6 separate regions of the Homo sapiens genome follow, and regions 2, 3, 4, 5 and 6 are each linked to region 1. Evidence: promoter capture Hi-C in 16 types of primary human blood cells and fetal thymus (Javierre and others, 2016). All regions are on one chromosome and are shown on one strand. The core of a region is centred on a gene start or on the middle of the fragment in contact, and the rest is flanking DNA. Distances in the headings are between cores, read along the strand shown. Region 1 holds the start of PARP8 (poly(ADP-ribose) polymerase family member 8). Region 2 has its middle 120 kb from the start of EMB. Region 3 has its middle 100 kb from the start of EMB. Region 4 has its middle 85 kb from the start of EMB. Region 5 has its middle 57 kb from the start of EMB. Region 6 overlaps EMB (embigin).

Region 1 (4,215 bases), core at 743-3,242:
GGGCAAGGTAAAGAAAGGATCCTGGATATGGGCTGACTTACTTTGAGCAAAGTGCTCCATAAGGATCTAGCCTGGAAGATCCTTGGAAGGATCTACGTTGGTATAGTTTTTAATTAGAGAAATTTATCTTGCAGAAATACATACTAGATAGGTTTTTATTTTTTAATCTTACTCCTTCAAATGTACAAATATTTATTAAATACATCACACCTTAAGGGCATGAACAGGGTGAGGTTAGCTTTGTTTAACCAAAACAGGGCAGCCCATGAAGCTTAAAAAAAAATCAAATATAGGACAAGTCACAAGAAGGCCTATTTTAAGGAGTGAGTAGTAAACTAAGAGCTCATCCAGACAAAAAAATATTTGGTAGCTTTAAAACTATTTCACATTTATTTGTAGTAAGGGTTCTACTTGGAAGATGCAAGCCTTGTGGCTAGATAACTATAAAATAAATTCTTGTGAGTTAATAGACTTTCAGCCTTTCAGAGAAATTAAAGCACATAATGGAAGAAGAAATACTCATGATTCTCAGTGGTGATGTGGAAGAGAAGAGAGCATTTTTGGCAGCCAAAGGGCCTACACAAAGCAACATATCCAGGAAGGACAAAGGGCTTGAACCTGTCCTACCCTAAACAGGAAGCATTTCAGGAGAGGACTGAGCAGGAGATATAGACTGTTGTGACTGTGGCTTTACTACATCAAAGGCTGCAGTGGATCTCAATAATGCAGAATGTTTCCTTTTGTAACTCATAGTGAATATGACTGGACAAGGAAATTATTTTGTAATTTGTTTCCTGAAAGATAAAGGAGTTAGAACATAGGATCTTTCATTGATTCTACAGAATCTTAAGACTCCTTCAGGGATGGCAGTCATTCCTACCGTGCTGAACATCATGTTGTCACGGTCAGAATCAGAACTAAATTGATTAAGGGTCTGAAACAGTTTGGCAACTCTTGGGCACTTATGCTGATAAGAAAAGTGATGAGACAGGGTAATGAAAAGAGGCTGCAAGAAATGACCATTCGTGCATTCAGCCAACATTTAGGCCACCCTCCTGTATTCCAGGCACTGTACATGGCACTGAGTATGCAAAGCAAAAGGAGTCATGGTCTACTGGCGGGAGCCTTCTCAGTGGAGAAAAGATCAACAAGAAAAGTGCCTGCTGGAGACCTCTCCTAGGGCATAAACCAATATAGAGGTGGGGCAGCTACGTCAGCCTGGGGTGTCCTTAGGCAGAACAGAAAGTGAGAATCAGAGCAGTATCTCATTTCTGAACACCTGGATTGTAGCTTTCCCTTGACTGTCAAAGGAGGTGGTTTTAAAAATCAAGCCAAACAGGTTTCCATCTTTTAGGAAGACCCTGGAACGTGCCAGTTGATTCTGACCATTTCTCATGAACAGAAACACCTAGGAAGGGAGAACTGGTGAGTTTCAAGAGGAGGAAGTCCCTCAAAAGGGGCTGTGTTTCGTAAACGGCGCCCCAAAAGGGCTGAACTACTTCGATCTGGAGGAAAAAGACTCAGGCACTGAGGGAAGGGGAGGGTGCACGTCTGGAGTAATTTTAAGGCCTTTTCCGTGTTATGTGATGTGGCAATAAGGAAAGATTTGTTCGTTTTATTATTTTTTTAATTTTTAAAGATTTTCTTTTCCCCCCTTTTCCCCCTCCCAGCCACTCCGGTTTGGGTTTGCCACAAGACTATAATTCCTTTAGAAAGTGGAGTCGAATTCATAAAAGTGATGGGGGGAGGGGCGCGGAGAGGGAAGGCTGGGAGCCCCAGGGAGTCTTCACGACCGCTCAGCTCCCGGCGCGAGTGGAGGTCGGTGTGGGGAGAAGCGGCTCCCGCCCGGGATGGCTAATACTCTGCGAGCCCCGGCAGCCCGCGGCCGGCGGGGTGACTAGGCGGCGGGCGCGGAGGGTCTGCGGCGGGCGGGCGGCGCTGCAGCAGCCTGGGCACGGCTGCCGCCGCCCGCGGGCGCGAGTGTGCGCGGGTGTGGAAGGCCGGCGTGCGAGCCGTGAGGGGTGTGCGCGCGTGAGCCGGAGCGGGGCTCGCCCCTCGCCGGCGCCCGCCGCCCAGCCGGTGATTGCTCTCTGGCTGTCCCCGGCACCTCGGCCCCCACGGCCGTTGGTCCGGGCGGGTGAGGGAGAAAGTGAGACTTGGTGTCATCACCATCCATTGTCAGAAGGGGAGGAAATTGGAATCCAGCAGCGGCGAGCAGCAGCTGGGCGGTCACATCTGGGAATGCAAAGCCGACCTCCCCCTCCTCCTCCTCCTCCCCCTCCTCCTCCTCCTCTTCTCTCACCCAGGATCACTTCCGAAACCACTTCGCCTTCAGCCCCTGCCTCGGCCAGAGGTTTCATTTTTAACTGAATATTTACGAAAGCTGGAAGCGTGCGAGGGGGGTGGGGTGGGGTGGAAATAGCGGCTGCTTCTTTTCCAGGGATTTATTTAATGGGGATGTGTTCAAGGCAAGAGCGAATTCAGAAGGATATCGACGTCGTGATCCAGAAGTCCAGAGCTGAGAAGGACTGCCTGTTTGCAGGTGAGTTCTTGCTTTTCCAGAACCTCGGACCCAGCGCCCCCTTCCCAGTTTTCTGACCGCGACGTCTGTGGCTGGGGGTGGGGTGGAGGGTTGCACGTCCCCATTCTGGGGTTCATTTGGCAACAGCTGCTGCAACGAGCGCGGGAGCCAAAAGGGGGAGGGGGCGCCAGCCTCTCCCCTTCCCCTCCCCCACCGCCAAGTCTGAGGCAGCCACCAGCTTTGAGGGCAGAGCCCGCGTGGCCGGAGCGGGGGTCTAGGCGAAGGGGCAGTGCGTGGTATTTCCAGCCCCGCGTAGTGCCCGAAGCCTCCAAGCACGCTTCCTGGGTTCCAGCAGCGGCGGCAGAGCGGGGTTGGTTTGCGCAATGGGCTGAGCGGCGGCGGCCGGGAATGGAGCCTGCTGCGCTGCGCTGCGCTTGTAAGCTGCGCCCGGCGCCGAGGACCCCCGGGGGGCAGCGCTCGGCCCATCTCCGGCCCCTTCGGCTCCCTCTAGTCCCCTCCGACTGGCAAAGAGAAGGGATTCCTCGGATTCCCAAGGCACCCAGCGCCCCTGCCTGGGGGTCGCCTTTCGTCCATTTTGCTCCCCCGGGATTTTGCTTTCGCTACCGCGAGCCCGGCTGAGGCTGCTTCCGGCCTCCCCTATCGGGAAATTCCCGCTGTTGCCATGGCACCCGGCACTTGTTGCGGGGGGCGGCCTCCCGCTGCACCCAGTCGGGGGCGCGCCGCATCCCCTCGGACGCGGCGCAGAGGGACCTCGCCGCCCTCTAGCCCTTGCCTTCTGCCCGGCCAGGCCTCCCCTGACACCACCGAATGTGGGGCTCAAGTCCTGATCGGGGTTAAAACAAATCCACTCCAGGGGTAGCTTTTGACGGGACTTTCTGTTTCAGATTTCAGATACTCTGACTCCACCTTTACTTTTACCTACGTTGGCGGCCCCAGAAGGTATTTATGTGTATAGAGTTGCTTCATTTCCTGTTCACACTCTTGTGTTTCCTTTGTTCTTAGCGTGTTCCGTGTTCGGGTATTTTGGTTGCTTGTTTGTTTGATTATTGTGGCTTTTCTTTACCTGCTACCCAAGCCTGACGTCCCTCGGTTTTAAATAGCAGGAGGAGGGGAATCAATGTTTGATTCAGGTGTTTCGAGGACCACGCCACAGGCAATGAGCAGAACTCTTCATGTTGAAACTGTTCTGCTACAGTACTAGATTGCTCTCAGGCGATTTGGGGTTGATACAGGCACGCCGGTGCAAAACTGGAATACTGGATATGAAGTGAAATGTATAAAAGACATAAAATGTCACAAAATAGTTTGATCAGAAGTGTTGATTTTCCTGGTGAGTTGGGGCTGCGTGTTTCCATGTTTTCTGAAGGTTTACATAAACATGCAGCCTGCCAATTCTCTGTACATTTTTTTTTCAATGAGTGGTATTTCGGTTTTCACGTATAGAAATTGGAGACTTATATGTAGCTGGAGTGGATGACTTCTTTCTTTTGGGGGAAGAATGAGAGATGCACATTTCGTTAGTAAATTGTGAACAACTTGAAACAAACCCAAATCCAATTTTGAATTTAGGAAGTAGAGTTAAAATGAAAGGTAGCCATTCAAATACTATGCCTTGCTACCTTCACTTGTTGAGTTAGGATTTTCTTCCTTTTAGCCCTTTAGGGACACAGTAG
Region 2 (4,215 bases), core at 677-3,176, 350 kb before region 1:
TTCCACTGAATCTACACAACCTGAAATTATTTCAGGTAAAATCTTGTAGAAACAAACGCAAGTTTTCAACACTTGGGTTGTAGTACAGAGTGCCTGCAACTCGGGCCCTTGAATCAAACTGTCTGAATTCAAAGCCCAGTTCTACCTTCCCTATCTGAAAACCTGAGCAAAGCACTATCACATGATGCTTCACTTTCCCACTTGGCAATGAAGCATAAGAGCAAACCTTCTTACGAGATGTTTTCTGAAAATAAGATGAAATAAGGCATGTTTCTTAGAGTGTCTGGCATGTGCAAAATGCTCATTAAACATTGACCCCCCTTTTTTTTTTTTTTTTTTTGAGATGGAGTCTCACTCCATCACCCAGGCTGGAGTGCAGTGGTGCGATTTCAGCTCACTACAACCTCCACCTCCCAGGTTCAAGCGATTCTCCTGCCTCAGCCTCCCAAGTAGCTGGGATTACAGGTGCTCGCGACCATGCCCAGCTAATTTTTTGTATTTTTAGTACAGACGGGGTTTCACCATGTTAGCCAGCATGGTCTCAATCTCCTGACCTCATGATCCACATGCCTTGGCCTCCCAAAGTGCTGGGATTACAAGCATTAGCCACCACGCCCGACCAATGACTATTATTATTTCAACCATTAAAGAATATCCTACTTTTAGAATTGCAAAATGTTAAAACTGGAAGAACCCTTCACACTTACTCAAAAATTTTTAAATGCATGGAGTAGTTTATTCTTTCTAGGTGTGGTAAACAATAAGATACTGTTATCCAAATGTCACATTCTCTCAGCGTTGTTGCTTTCCTGGAAAGGAGGTGTTATTGAGAAACTTGTGATTTTACTATAGTTAGAAAAAAACCCACTATATTTAGAATATTTTTTTCTAGATCACGGTAACTTCAGGAACTGGGAACCTTCTGGGTCTCCAACTGGGGATTTTTTTCATTGTTGATGCTCAGTGAAAGAGGGGAGTTTGAATGAGGAACAGACAAGGCAATACAGGCAAGACTCTCAAATTCTTTGTAGCTTTGATGCCTCCCTCTCTGACAAGGAATGTCCCTTCCTAGCGTGACACTATCTGTGGCTGGCTTTCTCCCCAGAAGGCTGTATGCTTAAGTTGTAATTCATGCTCTTCAACAACTTTAGGGCCCAAAAAAGCACTTGCTGTGTCAGACTTCATGCAGAGACTTGAGCCAGCATCCTGACAGGCATGGTTAGTTCCTCTTGTCCAAGCTCAATTTTTATTTTAAAATGTTTGTACATTTTGATTTGCCAAGTGGTAAGAGAAAAAAAATGTGATATTTGAGAAATAGGACATTCAAATTGTTGGTGCTAAAAGCTTCTTTATGAAATACATAGGATCCAAACAATTATATTTGAATAGAGTCCTGTACTAATGAAGCTAAGGTTACAAGTTTAGTTCCCTCGTGGACCAATTAGCTTCTTTTTTTCCTCATCCAGAAGTTGTAGGTAGTTATTCATTCAATCATTTATTAAGTGCTTAGGACCGGCCAGGCCTGGACCCACAATGTAAGGAAAAATCAGTGCTTAGATAGGGTGAGTCTTTGCCCTCAAAGGACCTGTTTTATTGAGTGTGACCCTGATTCCATCTGGCCAAACTGTAAACATGAGAAAAATCAACAGAATGGAAGGAAAAACTAATTTACATTCCCACCAGCAGCGTGTAAGTGTTCTCTTTTCTCCACAACCTCTCCAGCATCTGTTATTTTTTACCTTTTAATAAAAGTAAAAACTGGTGTGAGATGATATCTTATTGTGACTGGTGTGAGATGGTATCTCATTGCAGTTTTGATTTGCATTTCTCTAATGATTAGTGACACTGGGAATTATTTCATATGCTCGTCGGCCAGATGTATGTCTTCTGTCAAAAAGTGTCTGTTCATATCCTTTGCCCACTTTTTAATGGGGTTGTTTTTGGCCTCTTAATTTGTTTAAGTTCCTTATAGATTCTGGCTGTGCTATTCAAAGTAGCAAAGACATGGAATCAACCTAAATGCCTATGAATGGTAGACTGGTTAAAGAAAATATAGTACATATATCCCATGAACACACAGCCATAGAAATATTATTATTATGTCCTTTGCAGCAACATGGCTGGAAGCCATTATCCTAAGAGAACTAACACAGGATCAGAAAGCTAAATAACACGTCTCACTTATAAGTGGAAACTAAACATTGAGAACACGTGGACACAAAGAAGGAATAACAGACACCAGGGCCTACTTGAGCATGGATCATGGGAGGAGGAAGACGATAAAAAAAACTGCCTATCAGATACAATATTTATTATCTGGGTGATAAAATAATCTATACACCAAACCCCCGTGACATACAATTTACCTATATAACCAACCTGCACATGTAACCCAGAATCTAAAACAAAAATTAAAAAAAAGAATGGAAGAAATAGTAGAGAAAGGAATACAAATGTATTATTATTACTGGAAAGTAACCTATGGAGGAATCATTTGGGTATATAAATGAAAGCTTACTTCTCCTTCTAACAAATACTTCACAAGCTGATATCCAATTCACAATAGAAGATAAGAATATGAAGCATGATGGTTACATTACAGAAAGGAAATACAAAGAAGGAGAAAAGCCAAAATTGGGCTCAAGATAACAGATCTTGGAGAAATGAACATAGTCAAGTAGCTACACAACTTGTTCATATGAGGGAAGCCTCTAAACATTTCAGAAATGGGCTCTTGAGTAGAGTAAAACAAGAGAGGGGACAGAATCAGAAAATTACAGATACATACTAATGAAGAGAAGATTCTTTGAATACACACAGCAATGTCAAACCATTAATCTTTGAGTCTCAAAACAATTATTATGAGTCCACTTAAAGACCATGTCATAGGAAAGAGATTTCTATCCATCGTTTGGCAGATCACACTGTATTCAGTGGGGAGTTTTAAAATATAGAATTATATAAAATATTTTTAGGGACAGTTAAAGTGACACAAATCATTCCTTTTTAGTTTATGAATTCAAGATAATTCAGATGTTCTCCATTGATAATGTGTTATACAAAAATATTTTATGTTTATTCAGCAGTTTAAGAAAAGTTTGTGAAAATGGGACTATGGTGAAATCCATAAGGTAGCTTCTCTAGAGAAAGAACATGTGTTTTGCATGTTTTGAGAATATTAGTTCTTTCTCCAAAAAATAAGTGTTATTTCTGCCATCAAACACCCAACAAGTCCCACTTTTCAAAAAAAGAAAGAAAAGAAAGAACAACTTTGTGTGGAACTAGGATATATGGTCATTTAGCCTTGATAGACTGTTGTAAGAGTTTGGTCATGGGATATCAGAAAAATGGGCTATATCAAAATCTTCATGGAATCTGCCCTCCATGGCTCACAATATACAGGCCTGGCCTGTTGTCACACACCCTGATTTGTTCTCACTGGTGACTTCACACTTGAGCTCCTTTTCATGTCAGATGTAGAGACTCAAGGGTCCATTTGGTCTACTCAGCTTCATGAGAACTTTGAAATATTGGCTTGACAAGTTTTGTTAACCTTCATGAAACAAATATGTCCCTTCCCTTCTCTTCTGTTTTGCTTTCTTCTTTCAGTATTGGCTGGCTTCCAATTCTCCATACATATATTTTTATTTTCTTTTGTTTTGCTTTGCTTTGCTTTTTATTACTGACAATTATCAAAACTTTCTTTTTATGTAAAACTCTTTGCTATCAGAAGCTTTTGGACAAAATACACTGTAACAAAAAAACAAACTATTATTGGTTTATAATTTTAGGTAAATTTTAAATACTCGAAATACATTTTAAGTCATTTAGAAATTTTTTGTTTATCTTCAAGTTAGTTCAAGTCCATGATTAAAATTCCAAAAGGAAAAATTTAATCTTCATTGAAAGCAACAAAGCTTATAACGAAAAAACAGCTCTTTTGAAAGAAAATGGAAAATGCTTTCAAATATTTTCTAAAAATTTTAATATAAAGTTTGTACAAATTACATGCATTTACAAGAGGCTAAAAAACCTATGTCTAGACAACTGATGGTTGCTTGAATAGACTTTAGTGTTCTGAACTGAAAATATTCCATTAGAAGCCTTTCTATATGATTTCAAAATTATGATACTTTTTAAATTACATTTTTGATAAGTGGCCAGCTTTTTTCAGAGCTTTATTTATAAGATAAACATATTCTAAAAGCCTTTGAG
Region 3 (4,215 bases), core at 553-3,052, 330 kb before region 1:
GCTTTCTTGTGTTTTGTTTGTTTGTTTGTTTGTTTGTTTTTTGAAAGAGTCTGTGCTCTATAACTCTCCCTGGGTCTCTGAACCACATAATGCAGGGATGTGTGAATCCTTTCATGATCATGATGTATTGGTGACATGTGAATTTTCCACAAGTTGAGGAGGAAAAATCGTCAAACTGACAGAATTCAAAGTGGTCATCTAAGAACTTGGGACACCTGAGGAGAGAATGTCTCTAGAAGAAAATAAATGCAGCATTCTGTCATTCTGTAGACTTATTCTTTAGAGATCTGATTTGGTTGACTGCAACAACACCAACTCCATAAACATACAGCCTACGTGAACAGTGACTACGTATCTTTGTTTGTGCTGCTATAACAAAATATCTGAGAAGAGGTAATTTATAAAAAATAGAAATTTGTTTCTCACAGTTCTGGATACTTGGAAGTCCAAGATCAAGGCATTGGCAGGATTGGTGCCTGGTAAGAGCTGCTCTCTGCTTCTGAGCTGACACCTTGTTGCTGCATCCTCTGGAGGTGACAAATGTGTCCTCACTTGGGGGAAGGGACAAAGGTCGCAACCCAATTTCTTCAAGTTCTTTTATAAGGACTTTAATCCCATCCTGGAGGGCTGCACACTCCTGACCTAATCACCTCCTAAAGACTCCACGTTGTAACACAATCACATTTGCAATTAAGTTTCGTCCCATGACTTCTGGAGGTCATTCAAACCATAGCACTATATTTTCTCTGTCTTCTTTTCTCCTTTCCTCCATGGATTCTTCATTGTCTCCCTTTTCTTCATCCTCTTCAAATAAGAATTATGAAAAATGAGAGAAAGAGAAAAGGAAAGAGGATGGTGATACAAGAATGTATTCATCAATGCAATGTGTCAGGGGACACAGGGCTGCTATGGACATACCCCACCACTATTATCAAGCTATACACTATATTTTGCTTCTTCAACAATTCCAAAGGGACTGAAGCAAAAGTAAATAAATATAAATAAATAAAATTTACCATTTGATATAACTGCAACATACTATATAGGAATGAGTGATTGTTGTGGAGGAAAGAGTATGGTTTTTATTTCAGATTAAGTGGCAAAGGCTTCTGAACAACCAATGGATCAAAGAAGAAATCAAAAGGAAACATTTTTAAAAAAAGCTTGACATAAACAAGAATGGAAACACAACATACCAAAACTTATGGGATACAGCAAAAATAGGTCTAATGAGGAAGTTTATATCAATAAATGCCTACATTAAGAAAAAAATCTAAAATAGATGACCTAAATTTACACTTCAAGGAAACATAAAAAAACACACTAAGACCAAAGTTGGTAGAAGAAAGGAAATAATAAAGATCAAAGCAGAAATAAATGAAGTAGAGAATAGAAAAATAATAGAAAAAATCAATAAAACCAAGTATTTATTTTTGAAAGGCAAACAAAATTGATAAACCTTTAGCTAGACTAACTAAAAAGAAAAGACAGAAGATTAAAATAAAATTTTCAATGAAAGAAGAGACATCACAAATGATACTAAAGAAATAGAAAGGATCATAAAAGACTACTATGAACAATTATTTGCCAAAAATTGAATAACCTATAAGAAGTGAGAAACTCCTAGACACATATAACCTATTGAGAATGAATCGTGAAGAAATAGGAAATCTGAACAGACCAATAACAATGGTTATGAAAACCCTAAGAACTCTACTAAAAAACTGTTAGAAATAATCAATTGCATCTCTATACATTAGCAACAAAGTATTCAAAAAAAGAATTACTAAAACAATCTAATTCACAATTGCATGAAAAAATTAAAAAGCAATTAAATTCAACCATGGTGATGAAAGATCTGTACACTGAAAATGATATTAAAATATAAATTAAAGAAATTGAAGAAGACACAAATCCAAAGATATCTTGTATTCATGGATTAGAGTAATTAATATTAAAATGTCTACACTACCCAACTGTTCTATAGATTCAATACAATCTCTATTAAAATTTCAGTGACATTTTTCATGGATAGAGAAAAAACAATCCTAAAATTCATATGAATCCAGAAAAGACCTTAGCCAAATCAATCTTAAACAAGGAAAAGAAAGCTGGAGACATTGCATCACCTGATTTCAAAATATACTACAAACCTGCAGGAATCAAAACAGCATGGGACTGGATAAAATCAGACACACAGACCAGTGGAAAAGAATAGAGAGCCCAGAAATAAATCCACTTATTTATTGTCAATTGATCTTCCACGGATCTGTCAAGAGCATACAATGGGGGAAAAACAGTCTCTTCAATAAATGGTGTTGGGAAAACTGTGTATCTACATGCAAAATAATAAAACTGGACCTTTACCTCATACCTATAGAAAACTAACTCAAAATAAAGACTTAAATAACTGTAAAACTACTAGAGGAAAAAATAAGGAAAAAGCTTTTTGACATTGGTTTGGGAAATTATTTTTAAAATGTAACCCCACAAACACAGGCAATAAAAGCAAAAATAGACAAATGAAATTGCATCAATCTAAAAAGTTTCTGCACAGTAAAGGAAACAATTAAGTGAAAAGAAAACCTACAAAACAGGAGAAAATATTTACAAATGATACATCTGATAAGGGGATAATATTCAAAGTATATAATCAATTCAAACAAATCGATAGCAAGAATACAAATAACCCAATTTAAAAATGGATAAAGGCTGTAAATAGACATTCACCAAATAAGACAAAAAAATGGCCGAGAGGTATATTAAAAAGTGCTCAACATCACTAATAATCTAAGAAATGCAAATTAAAATCAATGAAATATCACTTCACACCTGTTGGAATGGCTATTATTAAAAAGATAAAAGAAAGCAGGTGTTGGGGAATGTGTGGGAAAAAGGAATCCTTGTACACTGTTGGTGGGAATGTAAATTGCTACAGTAATTATGGAAAATAGTATGAAGATTCCTCAAAGAATTAAAAATAGAACTACCATGTAATCCAGCAATCTCACTTCTGGGTATATATCCAAATGAAAGGAAATCAGTATGTTGGAGAGATATCTGCACTCCTATCTTCATTGCAGCATTGTTCACAATGAACACACACACACACACACATATATGAATATTACTCGGCCTTATTAAAAAAAGGAAATCCTGTCATCTGTCATTTGGGGCAACATAGATGAACCTGGATAATGTTATACTAAGTGAAATAAGCCAGACATGGAAAGAAAAATACTGATGATCTCACGTATGTGGAATCTTAAAAAGTCAAACTCATAGAAGGAGAGAGTAGAATGGTAGTTTCCAGGGGCTGGGGGATGGTGATAGGGAAAGAGGAGATGGTGGGCACAGAGTACAATTTCAGTTATGCAGGATAAACAAATTGTGGGGATCTAATATATAGCAGAGGGATTATAGTTCACACTACTGTATTATATACTTGAAATTTGCTAAGATAGTAGATGTTAAATCTTCTCACCAGAAAAAAAAAAGGTAACCATAAGGTGATGGATATGTTTTTTAGCTTAATTGTGGTAATCATTTCACAATGTATATGTATATCAAATTATCATGGGGTATGCCTTAAATATATACAAATTTTATTTGCCAATTATAACTTTAATAAACAGGAAAGAAATAAAAAACTAGAGGTAGTCCCACTTCTCAAAATGGGAGAATTATTGTAGAAAGGTGTCTAATTCAGGAAGAAGGGGAAAGAGAACACTGTGGAAACAATCATATAGTAAAAGATAATTGTTTGGGATGACACTATCACTCTTGGATGTAAGGATAATAAATAACAAACTTAGGCTCTGGCTTCATTCATCTGGTTGACTCATTAAGATGCAAACTCCAAATTAGAAAGTCAAACATAGGAACCAAGGTTCTGCATGTCTGTAATGCCTGTGCTCATCCACAATACACAGTGTGCAGAACAAGGTCTCAGAAGACAATGGACACTGGGATCAATGGCCAGAGGACTAGTCTCATCTGACTGGATTGATAACAGACCTAAAATCTGTAGGCTCCAGGAGCTTCTTTTCATTGCTGGTGAAAAGCTCAAAAACTAAAGAATTGGCATTGACACCCAAGTGTTCTAGAGATTTTTGTCCCCTCTTTACTTTTATTATATGAAATATTTTTTTCTATCACCCTAACTCCTGTAATGGCTCTTCTTATATACCTCCTGCCACCCGGGAGTAGACATTA
Region 4 (4,215 bases), core at 923-3,422, 310 kb before region 1:
TTCACCTATAAACATTAAATTCCTTTTCTTACCATATTGCACTGGCTGGGGTGTCTCCATTATTATTATTTTAGTTGTGCATCTCCTTTCACCAATGTATTAATTATGTCTTTTTTTATTCCATATTTTTGATATCTTAGGGCCTTGCTGAACCTGGAGGAACTGCCCCTCTCAGGGCTAATTCCTAGACAAGGCATAGAACTCACCTCTGAACACACCTGTCATGTGCAACCAACCAACCTTCATACCCCCAAACCACCTCCTTCATTGGGCTCTCTCACACTTTAGGCAAGTATCCACCTGCCCTTATCACCTCAGGGCCAGGTACCAAACAACTTGGGGCAGTCCCTATGTCCCAGGGCCCACTAGAATTACTCAAATTAGCCCATCCTAAACCTGCTTACCTTGTCTTGCCTGTCCCTTTCTACAGAAACCACAATAAACTCTCTTGCCCACATTTTCCCACTCCACCTGCATCCTGACCATTCTGGTGCTTCCCCATGTGGCCTCCCCATGGCAAGGCATGGCCCCTCCTCCTGGGATCTGTGTATATAACAAACTGTCTTTCCAATGGCAGTCCTCTCTTGATCTCTTCGCCTTGCCATACCTAAATAACAATAAAACTTTTATTTTAAAACAACAAAAGAGTTTATCAATAGAAGATTTTTATTACTGTTGGAAATACCCTTTTGATTTTTATATCTTGTAACTAGTTTCTAGTTTTATTGCATTGTTAGAAAATGTTATTAGTCTATTCTCTTTTGTCAGGGCATAGAGATCAATATCTAACTATAAGATGTATCTAGTTGATTTTGTTGTTCAGGTCTATATACTTACTTGTCATCTTAAACTAAGAGAGATGTATAAAAGTCTCTAATATTCAGTATGTTTCTACCAATGTCTTCTTACATTGCCTGTAGTGCTTGCTTCATAAGGGTAGTTATTTGGTGCATTGGTGATCATAATTATTATATTTTTTATTTTGAAATGAAATGTGCCTTTCTTTGTCCTATATAATAACTTTTGACTTGAATTCTACTTGTCTGATATCAGAATTTCAATCTACACTTTCTTATTATTTCCATTTGCCTGTAATTCCTTTGTCCTTCTCTTTGTTTTGAACCTTTCCAAATCCTTTTGTTTAGGTTTGTTCTTATATGCATTAAACAGTTGAATTTTGCTTTGAGTTAAACTGAGAATCTCTTCCTTTCAATAAGTAGGTTAAGCCCATACACATTTATTAAGATGATTGATATGCTTAGTCTCTACCCTGCCCAATTATTTAAGTTATAATTACAATATCTGTTCTATTTGATTTCTCTATGTAATATGTTCTCTTTATTTGTTTATTTTAAAACTGAAATAACATTTTATTTTCTGTCCTAATGGCTATCTTTACACTTTTAAATTGCCCCTTTGTTCTCATTTTCTTATCTAACCTTTTACTGGCTGGTCAGTTTGTGATGCTATACTTTGACTATACCTATTGCCTACGCAAAAATTAATCAATTTATTCTACTTGCCTTTTTGCCACTCCCTTGTCCCCTTTTTAGCCGTATTATTTCTTCTGTCCAAAGGTATATTACTATATTATATTTTATTACTCATCTCCACCCTTGTTTTAGTTTCAGATCATCAATTTAAAATACTAAATACATATCAGCAGGGTTTTTTTGCTGAAATTTCGTCTGTTACCCTTTGATTGGATAAAGCTCATCTTCTCTTAGAATGCTCAAGAAATAAACCTCAATATCTTGAATGTTTTAAATTTTTTATTTATAGCCTTCACACTTGAAGGATAGCTTACCTAGGTAAAAAAGCTTTGTTCAGACATTCTTTCCTTGAGTGTCCTGAAAATGGTGTCCTGAAAATGTTACTCATTGTTGTCTTTATTTATATGCTGTTTTGAGAAGGCTGATAGTCTAATTTTCATGAAATGTATTTATTTGTTTGCTTGTTTATTTAGGCTGAGGCAGGGGGCCTTGGTCATATTTTATTTTTAAAGTTTAATTGTTTTATAAAAATATGTCTATGGTTTGATTTTTCTGATTCGATCTCCACAGGTAATTGGGTAGCTCTGCTGATTAATGTCATTTTATTTCTGGAAATTGTTCCTGTCTTATATATATAAATACTAGTTTTGTTTCCGTGTTTTGTTTTTCTTCTTCAATAACTTCAAATTATGCTTATGTGGATCTTCTTTGCTTGCATATTTCAACCACTGTTTCTCTGGCCCAATTTACTTCTTTCTTATCTCAATTTTTATTCTCTTTGATGTTTTCCTACTTTTGTTTCTCGGCATCTTGTAATTTAGTCTTATTATTATAAAATTTTCTCTTTATCTTCTATATCTTTCCTAAGATCAATCAAATACCATTTTATTTCTTGATGGTTTGGGTACATTTCTGTCCTTTCTAAAATTACTAACCTAAGATTATTGGTTTTTTTAATATTAGCAAATGTTTGAGAATATGTAATGTATTTCACAATACTGGTAACATTTCTGCTGTGTGTGGTGGGAGGGAGAAGCTTTCATTAGCTAAGATAGTTTGATTCTTGTTTTTAGTTTTCTCGGATAGTGTCTTTCTGGAAGTCAAAATTTATTTTGCCATGAATTTCATGGACAGGACTCTTGACTTAGGGTGATTTAAAGCATTCTTAAAGAAGGCCTACCCCACATTTTGTCATGGTGGGAAAGTGCAATTTCTTTAATTGATGGCACTTAGAGGACAGGTTTTATGTTTTGTGCTCTGTTATTTTATTTATTTATTTGAGACAGGGTCTTGCTCTATAGCACAGGCTGGAGGGCAGTGGTACAATTGTAGCTCACTATAGCCTTGACCCCTGGGCTCAAGCAGTCCTACTAACTCAGCCTCCCGAGAAGCTGGGACTACAAGCACCACCACACCTGGCTAACTTAAAAAAAAAAAAAAAAAAAACTTGTAGAGACAGAGTCTAGCTATGTTGTCCAGGCAGGTTTTGCTCTGTGATTTTTGACTTTTCTTTTGTCTTTCAGTACTTTAAGTCCCCACTTGCTCTGTTTGTCTCTTCACTGCACAATTTTCAAAGTCTGACTCTCTCTTCTTTCTTCCCTTATTCTTCCCAGAAGAAATAGCTTTCCAAGACTGTATCCTTTTTAGATCCCTTATCTGTAGCCAATATACTGATATACAAGGCTCTTTTTCAGTATTTTGGCACTTAACATGGGCTTTCTTTTTTCTAGTGGTAATGTTAGCTCAGTCATAAGCCCTCCTTTTGCTTCTCCTATCTTCCACTTGGTTTTTCAAGATGCCTACCCCTTACTCTCTGCAAAGGTCAGTGGAAGCTCAGCAAACAACTCTACGAAAGTGATGTTTATAGTTCTACTTACAGGTAATTTGAAGCAGTGGTGTTCCCTGTTTTTTACTTGAGATTTGTGGGTTTCTCTGTTGTTTTTCATATTGAATTGTATTGTTTTGAAGAGTATGTTGGGAGATTTTAATTGAGATGACCACCATTACTTTGGCTATTCCAATTCCATCAGTTTACTTGATATGGTTTGGATGTGTCCCCACCCAAATCTCATCTTGAATTGTAGTTCCCATAATTCCCAGGTGTCATGGGAGGGACCAGGTGGGAGGTGATTGAATCATGGGGGTGGTTACCTTCATGCTGTTTTCATGATACTGGCAATTTCTCACATGATCTGATGGTTTTATAAGGGGCTTTTCTCCCTTTTGCTTGGCACTTCTCCTTGCTGCTGCCCTGTGAAGAAGGACGTGTTTCCTTCCCCTTCCGCCATGCGTGTAAGTTTCCTCAGGCCTCCCAAGTCATGCTGAACTGTGAGTCAACTAAACCTCTTTTCTTTATAAATTACCCAGTCTCAGGTATGTCTTTATTAGCAGTGTGAGAACAGACTAATATAGTACTTTTTAAAAAGTTGTGTTTCATCTATAGGCTCTTAATTATTGCAGAAGATAATATAAGCTTCTCTAGATTTTATTCAAAAATCTTCACGATATGTCTTAAATTTAATTTTGTGCCTTCAGCAGCCAAATCTTACTCCTAGCCCTGTACACCTATCTTCTATTTTAATAACCTGCACCACAGTTTTTTACATTCCTTAATTTTGCCATGTATTTCTCATCTTTATACTTTTGCTGTGCTCTCTCCTCCCCTAAAACTGCCCTCCATTAACTTATTCACCACTTAAAAGTATTATTTGTTTACTGGGTT
Region 5 (4,215 bases), core at 882-3,381, 280 kb before region 1:
AGTAAACACGGAATATTCTACAGGATATGTCACATATTAGGTCACAAAACAAGTTTTAACAAACTTAAGATTGAAATGAAACCAGGTATCTTTTCTGAGCACCATGAAATTAAACTACATACTATAAATGGTAATAAAATAAATGGGACACACACAAAAAATGAAGTTACCCAATGCTCATGAGTTGAAAGAATCAATAGTGTTAACTTGTCCATACTACCCAAAGTGTTCAACACATTCAATGCAATCCCCATCAAAATTCCAGCTGAATTAATTATATTTCTTTACTGAAGTTAAAACAGAAATATAGATCAATGGAACAGAATAGAGAGCCCAGAAATAAAATCATGCATATACAACCAACCGATCTTCAAAAAGGGTGCCAAGAATACACAATGGGGTAAAACAGTCTCTTCCACAAATAGTGTTAGGAAAACCAGATACTCACATGCGGAAGAATAAATTGGACTCTCATCTCACACCATATATAAAAATCACCTCAAAATAAAGGCTTAAATGTAAGACCCCAAACTGTAAAACTCTTAGTACACATAGGGGGAAAGCTTCTGGATGTTGGTCTTGACAATGATTTCCTGTATAAGACAAAAGCCCAGGTAATAACAACAAAAATGAACAAGTGAAACTCCTTTAGACTAAATAGCTTCTGTATAGCAAAAGAACCAATCAACAGAGTGAAAAGGCAGCCTATAGAATGGGTTAAAATATTTGCAAACCACATATCCAGTAATGGATTAATCTCCAAATATATAAGGAACTTCTACAACTCATTATCAGAAAATAATTTTAATGAGCAAAGGATTTGAATAGACATTTCTCCAAAGATGACATACAAATGGCCAAAAAATATATAAAAAAGCATTCAAACTGGGCTCAGTGGCTTACACCTATAATCCAACACTTTGGAAATCTGAGGTGAGAGGATCACTTGAGCCCAGGAGTTCGAGACCAGTCTGGGCAACATAGTGAGACCCTATCTCTACAAAACATTTAACAATTAGCCAAGCATGGTGGTACACGCCTGTAGTCCCAGTTACTCAGGAAGCTGAGGCAGGAGGATCACTCGAGTCCAGGAGATTGAGGTTGCAGCAAGCTGTGTTTGCACCACTATACTCCAGCTGGGTGGCACAGTGAGACCCTGTCTCAAAAAAAAAAAAAAAAAAAAAAAAAAAATTCAACATCATTAGTCATCAGGGAAATGTCAATCACCTCACACCTTTAGGATGACTCTTAAAAAACAAGTGCTGTTGAGGATGTGGAAAACTTGGCACTCTTATACACTGTTGATGGGAATAGTTGATGCAGCCACTATGGAAAGCAATATGGAGGTTCCTCACAAAAGTAAAAATAGAATAACTATATGATCCAGCAACCCCACTTCTGGGTATATATCCAATAGAATTGAAATCAGGAACTCAAAGGAATTTCTGCATTCTTACGTTCACTGCAGCATTATTAGCAACACCCAAGATTTCAAAACAATCTAAATGTCCCTCAGTAGATGAATGGATAAAGAAAATGTGATATATACATACAGTGAAATATTATTTAGCTCTTAAAAAAATTCTACCATATGTAAGAACATGGATAAACCTGAAGGATATTGTGCTAAGTGAGATAGCCAGAACAAATGCTGTATGATGCCACTTATCTGAGCTATCTAACGTTAAGTCAATCTCATAGAAGTAAAATGGTGGTCACTAGGAGCTGGGGGAAGGGTAAATGGGAAGTTGTTGACCAAAGTTTCACTTATGCAAGACAAATAAGATATAAAGACAAATAAGGTGAGAATCTGTCTCTACAAAATATTGTAAAAATTAGCCAGATGTGGTGGCATGCAACTGTGGTCCAAACTACTCAAGAGGCTGAAGTGGGAGGATTGCTTGAGCTGGGGAGATTGAGCCTGCAGTGAGTAGTGTTCACTCCACTGCACTCCAGCCTGGGCAACAGAGCAAGACCCTGTCTCAAAAAAAAAAAAAAAAAAAAAAAAAAAAAAAAAAAAAGAGAGATCTGGTGTACAACAGCGTGCCTATACTTGACAATACTGTATTGTGCACTTAAAAATTTGTTAAGAAAGTAAATCTCAAGTTCAGTGTTTCTACCACAATAAAAAAAAACTAAAAATTAAAAAGAAACTTTGGTTTCTCTTTAGATAAACATACTTATGTTTATGTTTTAAATTACCATATTTTATATTTAGGCTAAAGGTTTTTGTTTACCCCAATTCAGGAGACTTCAGAACGTAAAGCAGAATTAGAGTATCATTTGATAATTGTTTTCAGAATCTCAAAAGTTTTAGAAGCATAACATTTTTTCACTGCACAATTTTAATGCTTTCAGCACTACCTGCATCAGCAAAGCACACAGGCTGGCTCATGGTACTATCAGACAGGTGTCCATCTCACTCATAAACACGTGCTGCTGAATGTTATCTCTAGCCACAAACTGTCTCCTGCCATTGCAAATCATTGTGAACCTTGATTAAACACTCTTATCTCCTGCACCACATTTTAGCTACTATAATGGTTCCAGAACCCCTATTCACAGAAATAAATATGAGTAAATGTAGTTATTATAGGGAGGTGACATGAATGTGAATATTTACTCTGGGGTTTTGTGTGTACAGATATATTTTAGTAAGTGTGAAAGGTTTTGATTCAAACTTGAAAATGTACTTATTTCCAAAATAAAATAATCTTTTTTTTTCCCACTATAAAGCAGTTATTTTAGCTATGGCTAGATACAATGAGAGATTTAATATATACAATTTCTTTCTCTTATGTAGCTACAGTAACACAAAACAAAGATTATTCTCAAATGATCTTTATCAAGTTTATACATAAATATTGTCAATCATTCAATGATGAAAGGACATTTTAAAACCTGCATTGTCATTTAAATAGATATAAGAAAGACTTTTTTTTTTTTTTCTTGCAAGGACTATCTGGTAAGACATCTGAGAACATGGGCTTGTAACTGACTCTGTACTTTGCTTTTATGCCAATAGTTTCAGTTGATAGTTTAGGTTGATTTTCTACCTAAACCAATAATAAAGAAGTAAAAAAAATCCATATTCTTTTCTAATATTAACCATTTAATGCTTAGACTAATGAATTGATTCAAACATTTTAAAATATTTTGTTTTGAAAAAATTACAGATTCATAGAAAGTTGCAAAGATATTACAGAGAGCTCTCATTTTCACCTAATTCAGTTTCTCCCCATGCTTATATCTTAAGTAATTATAGTACAATATCAAAAGAAGGAAATTGACATTTGTTATAATGTATATGTATTAGTTCTATGTCTTTTATCACATATGTAGATTCACACAACCACCAAGATACAAAACTAAACCATTCCCACAAAGAACTCCCTATTATTACCTCTTTATAGTCACATCTACTCCCACTTCTCTGCCCCCGCAGCATTCCTAACCCATGGTAACCACTAATTTGTTTTCCATCTCAGTAATTTTGTCCTTTCAAGGACATCATATAATGGACTCACATCTTTTGACATGGGCTTTTCACTTAGCATAATGTCCTTCAAATCCATCCAAATTGTTGCATGTATCAACAATTCATTCTTCTTTATTACAGAGCAATATTCCAAGATATGGATGTACCACAGTTTGTTTAAATATCCTCCTACTTTAAGATATTTTGTTTACTTACAGCTTTAAGCTTTTATAACTAAAGCCGTTATGAACAATCATGTACAATTCTTTGTGTGGACATAAGTTTTCATTCCTCTGAGATAAATGCCCAGGAATGAGATTTATTGGCCATATATGTTTAGTCCTTTAAGAAAGTGCCACGGCTGGGCGCAGTGGCTTATGCCTGTAATCTCAGTACTTTGGGAAGCCGAGGCAGGTGGATCACCTGAGAGCAGGAGTTCGAGACCAGCCTGGCCAACATGGTGAACTCCATCTGTACTAAAAATACAAAAATTAGTCAGGCATGGTGGCAGGCCCCTGTAATCCCCGCTACTAGGGAGGCTGAGGTAGCAGAATTGCTTGAACCAGGGGGGCGGAGGTTGCAGTGAGCCGAGATCGTGCCACTGCACTTTAGCCTGGGCGAAAAAGCAAGACTCTGCCTCAAAAATAAATTAAGAAGAAAAAAGAAAAAGAAAAATAAACTGCTGAACTACTTTTCAGAGTGTCTGTACACTTCCACAAACAATGTATAAGAGAGAT
Region 6 (4,215 bases), core at 776-3,275, 260 kb before region 1:
CTGTGGCACAATTTGTGTTCTCTGAATAATAATAACTAATAGAATTCTAGGCCAGTGATTTTCAACAGACAGAGGATCAAAACCATTTGTAGATGTTTTCAAGAAATAACAGATGCCATAGCCCCAACCCAAGAGGTTCTGATCCAGGAGATTCAGCAAGGTCTGAGCAACTGTATTTTTTTAAAGAGGCTCTTAAGTGATCAAAAATTGCCAGGCTTGAGAACTATTGCTTTAAAAATAATAATATTAAATACTTCCTGATGGTTACTGCACACCTTCTGTGCACCATAACCTATGCTATGCATTTACACATATATAATATTCATTCCATCCAACAACCTCATATGGTGAGTACTATTATTAAATCCATTTTGTAGAGAAGAAAGCTGAAGTACAGAGAAGTGCAGGTAGTAAGTGATGAAGAAGAATTCTCACGCAGGTAGGCAGACTTGGAAAGCCACTTTCCACCACCACGTGGACATATACAGAAAATACTCCTCTGCCTTTTCTCCCCCTAACTGCAAACATTTCATTCAATTTTATGTTTCCCTGTATTTTACCCAAGTGAAAATTAATCTGTAAAAAATAATACTTACAGCTGTTCAATCTGCTCAAATTCTTTCCCCTCATCTGTGTAACAAAAGAAGAATTTGACTGTGAAGTTGGTTTGTCACTTTTATGGAACATATATGCTCAATTAAACCTCCTTCCTAAGTAAGTAAGTACTATGCTGTTTCTCCTGTTTGGAATGAAGGAGAGACATGCTACCTTAAACACCTACACCTCCTTTATCTGCACTACAGACCTTATCTGCATTTCTGATCAAACATAGTTTAGTGGCCTGGTATTTTCAAAAACATGACTGCTTAGTTTGTCATTATTTAAATCATTAAAAATTTAGTATAAAATCAGGAAAGAATACAGGACGTAAGGTCAATTTTCTAGAGGATTACTGCTTTATCAACCTGTAACCCATCAGGCACAGGCCGCAAAAATAGGACATGACAGGATGGTCTCTCTTTAATGAGAACTCTGGAATGGTTAATAAAATATTTTTTTAAATGATAATCTAAGTGAAAGAAAAATTGTTTCTTTTAGACTTTTTATATTAAGCTATCATAGATTTTTCTAATATTCCAGTGCCAGAATACATATCACCTAATTGGTACTTAGGTACCAGTAGCACCAAAAAAAAAAAAAAAAAAAAAAAGAGGGGGGTGGTGGGGGAAGAGAAAGAAAAAAGGCATTTTTAATACTAAGTTTTTTCAGGAATTGAAACAGGAAGACCATGGGTATATGTTTCCAGCTCACTGTCACCATTGTTGTAAACCTAAATACTGCTCCAAATAAGAAAATGAAGATTTTCCCCAAAAATCCTAAAGTCATTGCAATGTATCAAATCATAATCCATATCATAAGTAAATGATACTTATAATTAACTGATAATACTTTCTAAAAAAAACAAAAAACAAAAAAAAGAAATCCCACCTGAGTGCTTCTTTTTCTTTTGTGTGTACTTTTCACAAAGCAGAATGGTGGCCACTAAAAGAATCACCTCAGCCACTATTACAAGAAATGGTTTGAGGGGCACCAAATAGCTCAGCACCACAAGCTCAATGTGTTCTTCACTCTCGCCTAATTGGAATAGTGCACGGCACCAGTAAGATTCCCCATCTTCCTCCAAAAGTTGTGTTATCTTCAGCTTTGTTTCGTTAGCATATGTTCCATTGATCACATATTTATTCATTTGAACACCAACAGGAACCTAATATGAGGAGACATTAAAATCCATTCCTATCATAGCACATAAAAGATACATGACATAGTTTTTCAGTGAAAGCTATAAGATAATGCCAACAATATTGCTTACTAGAGAAAGGCATATTAAAGTTTGTGAGAGGTTATCTATAACAGACTTAAGTCTTATCAGAGTTTGATCTCCCAGGGAGCAAACAAAGAAAAAATATATACATTGCTATAAGGATTTAGCAGTGAATGTTTAAAACTACAAAGAAGCAAATAGGTCATCATGAATAAATATTATAGAAGAATTAAAAACAGAAAAATCCCAATCATCTGAGTCTCACATTCCTATCCTTGCCTAGTGCTTTAAAGTACTTTTTCCTTCACAAGCACAGGCACATATTCAAACAACTACCACCCCGGAAGCTACTATTTCTGATCATTTCTATAAAGGAAAATCGCTCACTCAGACAATGTGATTTCCCCAGGCTAGAAATGAAGATGAAACTCTCAGGCTTTTGGAGCTGATGTAGATAGAATGGAGGGGACCCTCTGTGAGCCTGGGATCCGAAGTGAACTGCACACCTTCTGTCTTTTCATATCTGAATTTCTTTCTCACTCAGATAAGCTGGCTTCTAAGATTTGCTGGGTTTTCCACAGCCTCACAAGGTGCCATATTAAGCTATTTGGGGCTGTTTTATTTAATCTATTTAAATTAAATTTTATTCCCAAGCCATTTGATGCTTTTCCTGCTCCATCACTCAACCGTGCTATTCAATAAATGCTAATCTGCATACAAATATTCTCAGAGCTTATCCAAGGAATAATTATCTGTGAGTATATTATTCGTGCAAAAAAAATTACAGCAACCTGGCACCATGTGCACAACACTGCCTGGAATGTTTGGTACAGATTGGTCAGAGCTAATCAATCAAAGTACCATATTTTTAATAAGTACCCAGCTGATTCTGATGCACATGGTTGGTCTACATTTTGAAAAGGCACTTGTGCTCAAGTTTTGACCTGCATCCTATTCCCCAAACTTTTCTCACATCCTAATAAGACTCATGCTTAGAGTCAAATTAAGAGGATAATGACTAGTATAGCAATGGACAAAAGCACTGGTACGTCTAAAACGACATTTTCAACATCTGATATAATTAGATGAAGGCTAATGTTTTTCACATATTGTTGTACCACATACACATCAATAAATAAAGCTGTGTATTTCAAATACCATAGTTGACATTTGTTTTTACAAAATTACACTTTTTAAAAAAAAATTACATATACACAATGACTGCCTTTCCTCATCATCCATCAGAAGACATAAAGGAGTAGGAATGGCTTCAGTCTGCATCTATGGGATTTGGTTGGAACTATTTCATTGAAAAACTAAACCTGTTAGCACAGAATAAGTCACACTCCCTTCTGAATCATCTGTCATCCTTCAATAGTCTATAATAACACCAATTTTGCCTAAGAAGGAATTTAATATTTCATTGTAACATCTACACTGTCTCACATGTTCCTTCTACAATTATAGCTTGCCTTTAACGGGACTTTAATTGTAATGCTTCTTAGTGCCAGGGCAAAGGAAGGGTGTCTCTTAAAGGACAATGTCCTAAATTTTCCTGCCATTAGAGGCTATTTGGGGAGAAGAAAGGAAACCAGAAATTATTTATAAAATACTCATGTTTTTCTTAATATCAGCTCTTTGAATAGCGATTTCTCTCAGTAAAAAAGGAATTAAAAGTATTTGGCTTCTCTCAGGTAGCTTGAAAAGGCCAATGACACTTTCTGATAGAACCTAAGATGTAAGATTAAGTTACAAAGTTTTCATTATTTTCTCAAATAGTGCCACTATTTTGCATTCTATCACAGATGTTTCAGGAGACAGAAGCCCAAAAAGATGTCTAGCATTTTTTCTAGTTACTTTCATGGAATGATTTTTAAAAAGAATATTTTCTAATGGGGTTATTTCTAAACTAGGCAACTACACACAAAATGTAATTTCTTTTCAAAGAATGTAATTAAATTGTTAAACCTAAAAAACAAACTACCAGCTAATGAAACGTTAAGAGTATCTTCATATGTATAACGTAAACATGCCAAAAACCATCAAATGACAACTCTGTTTGTCACTGCTCTTTCTTTATGAACATAAGCTAAACAACAAGATAACAAAAGTATAAATCATCTTAGGAATGCTGAGTCTGTTACAATCTTGTTATTTTTTAAATAAATGTTTTCTGTTGTTGTTGTTTTCTTCAAATCAAGGAACTATCTTACCTTTACACTCCCATTACTACTGTACCAGGTCCAATTTAAAGGAAAACAATTTTGACATTTACATGTCAAGACAGTAGAATCCCCTACGTAAGAGATCAATGGCTTGTTTTTCCCATGAAGTTCAGGGACTGAGAATAAAATAGAGAAATGTATGTTACTGAAAGAGTTTAGGTAAAGGAA

What was found. The method cuts DNA at HindIII sites, captures the fragments that hold promoters and counts their contacts. A CHiCAGO score of 5 or more calls a contact.
Region 2: a fragment that was not itself captured here is called in contact with the fragment with the promoter of PARP8 in region 1 in 5 of 17 cell types (activated CD4 T cells, non-activated CD4 T cells, naive CD4 T cells and 2 more); the score reaches 7.8 in activated CD4 T cells.
Region 3: a fragment that was not itself captured here is called in contact with the fragment with the promoter of PARP8 in region 1 in 6 of 17 cell types (naive CD4 T cells, naive CD8 T cells, total B cells and 3 more); the score reaches 6.2 in naive CD4 T cells.
Region 4: a contact is called between a fragment that was not itself captured here and the fragment with the promoter of PARP8 in region 1, in 10 of 17 cell types (non-activated CD4 T cells, naive CD4 T cells, activated CD4 T cells and 7 more). The highest score is 10.9, in non-activated CD4 T cells.
Region 5: a fragment that was not itself captured here is called in contact with the fragment with the promoter of PARP8 in region 1 in 1 of 17 cell types (non-activated CD4 T cells); the score reaches 6.3 in non-activated CD4 T cells.
Region 6: a fragment that was not itself captured here is called in contact with the fragment with the promoter of PARP8 in region 1 in 1 of 17 cell types (total CD4 T cells); the score reaches 6.6 in total CD4 T cells.

The regions. Positions count from the first base shown.
Region 1 is chr5:50,664,645-50,668,859 of GRCh38, forward strand. It overlaps PARP8 (poly(ADP-ribose) polymerase family member 8), which reads left to right and starts at 1,993. Exons shown (of 26, transcript NM_024615.4): 1 at 1,993-2,542; 2 at 3,427-3,481. The coding sequence starts at 2,452. RefSeq lists silencers at 1,836-1,985, 2,036-2,095, 2,788-3,117 and enhancers at 2,268-3,180, 2,616-3,815. The HindIII fragment of the contact is 4,109 bases long and covers 270-4,215 here.
Region 2 is chr5:50,315,341-50,319,555 of GRCh38, forward strand. No RefSeq gene overlaps it. Among named protein-coding and RNA genes, the nearest start is that of EMB, 120 kb to the right of the region's middle. The HindIII fragment of the contact is 1,169 bases long and covers 1,343-2,511 here.
Region 3 is chr5:50,337,754-50,341,968 of GRCh38, forward strand. No RefSeq gene overlaps it. Among named protein-coding and RNA genes, the nearest start is that of EMB, 100 kb to the right of the region's middle. The HindIII fragment of the contact is 1,282 bases long and covers 1,162-2,443 here.
Region 4 is chr5:50,354,544-50,358,758 of GRCh38, forward strand. No RefSeq gene overlaps it. Among named protein-coding and RNA genes, the nearest start is that of EMB, 85 kb to the right of the region's middle. The HindIII fragment of the contact is 709 bases long and covers 1,819-2,527 here.
Region 5 is chr5:50,382,123-50,386,337 of GRCh38, forward strand. No RefSeq gene overlaps it. Among named protein-coding and RNA genes, the nearest start is that of EMB, 57 kb to the right of the region's middle. The HindIII fragment of the contact is 3,140 bases long and covers 562-3,701 here.
Region 6 is chr5:50,401,690-50,405,904 of GRCh38, forward strand. It overlaps EMB (embigin), which reads right to left. Exons shown (of 9, transcript NM_198449.3): 5 at 4,036-4,163; 6 at 1,489-1,765; 7 at 597-630. Among named protein-coding and RNA genes, the nearest start is that of EMB, 37 kb to the right of the region's middle. The HindIII fragment of the contact is 9,112 bases long and covers 1-4,215 here.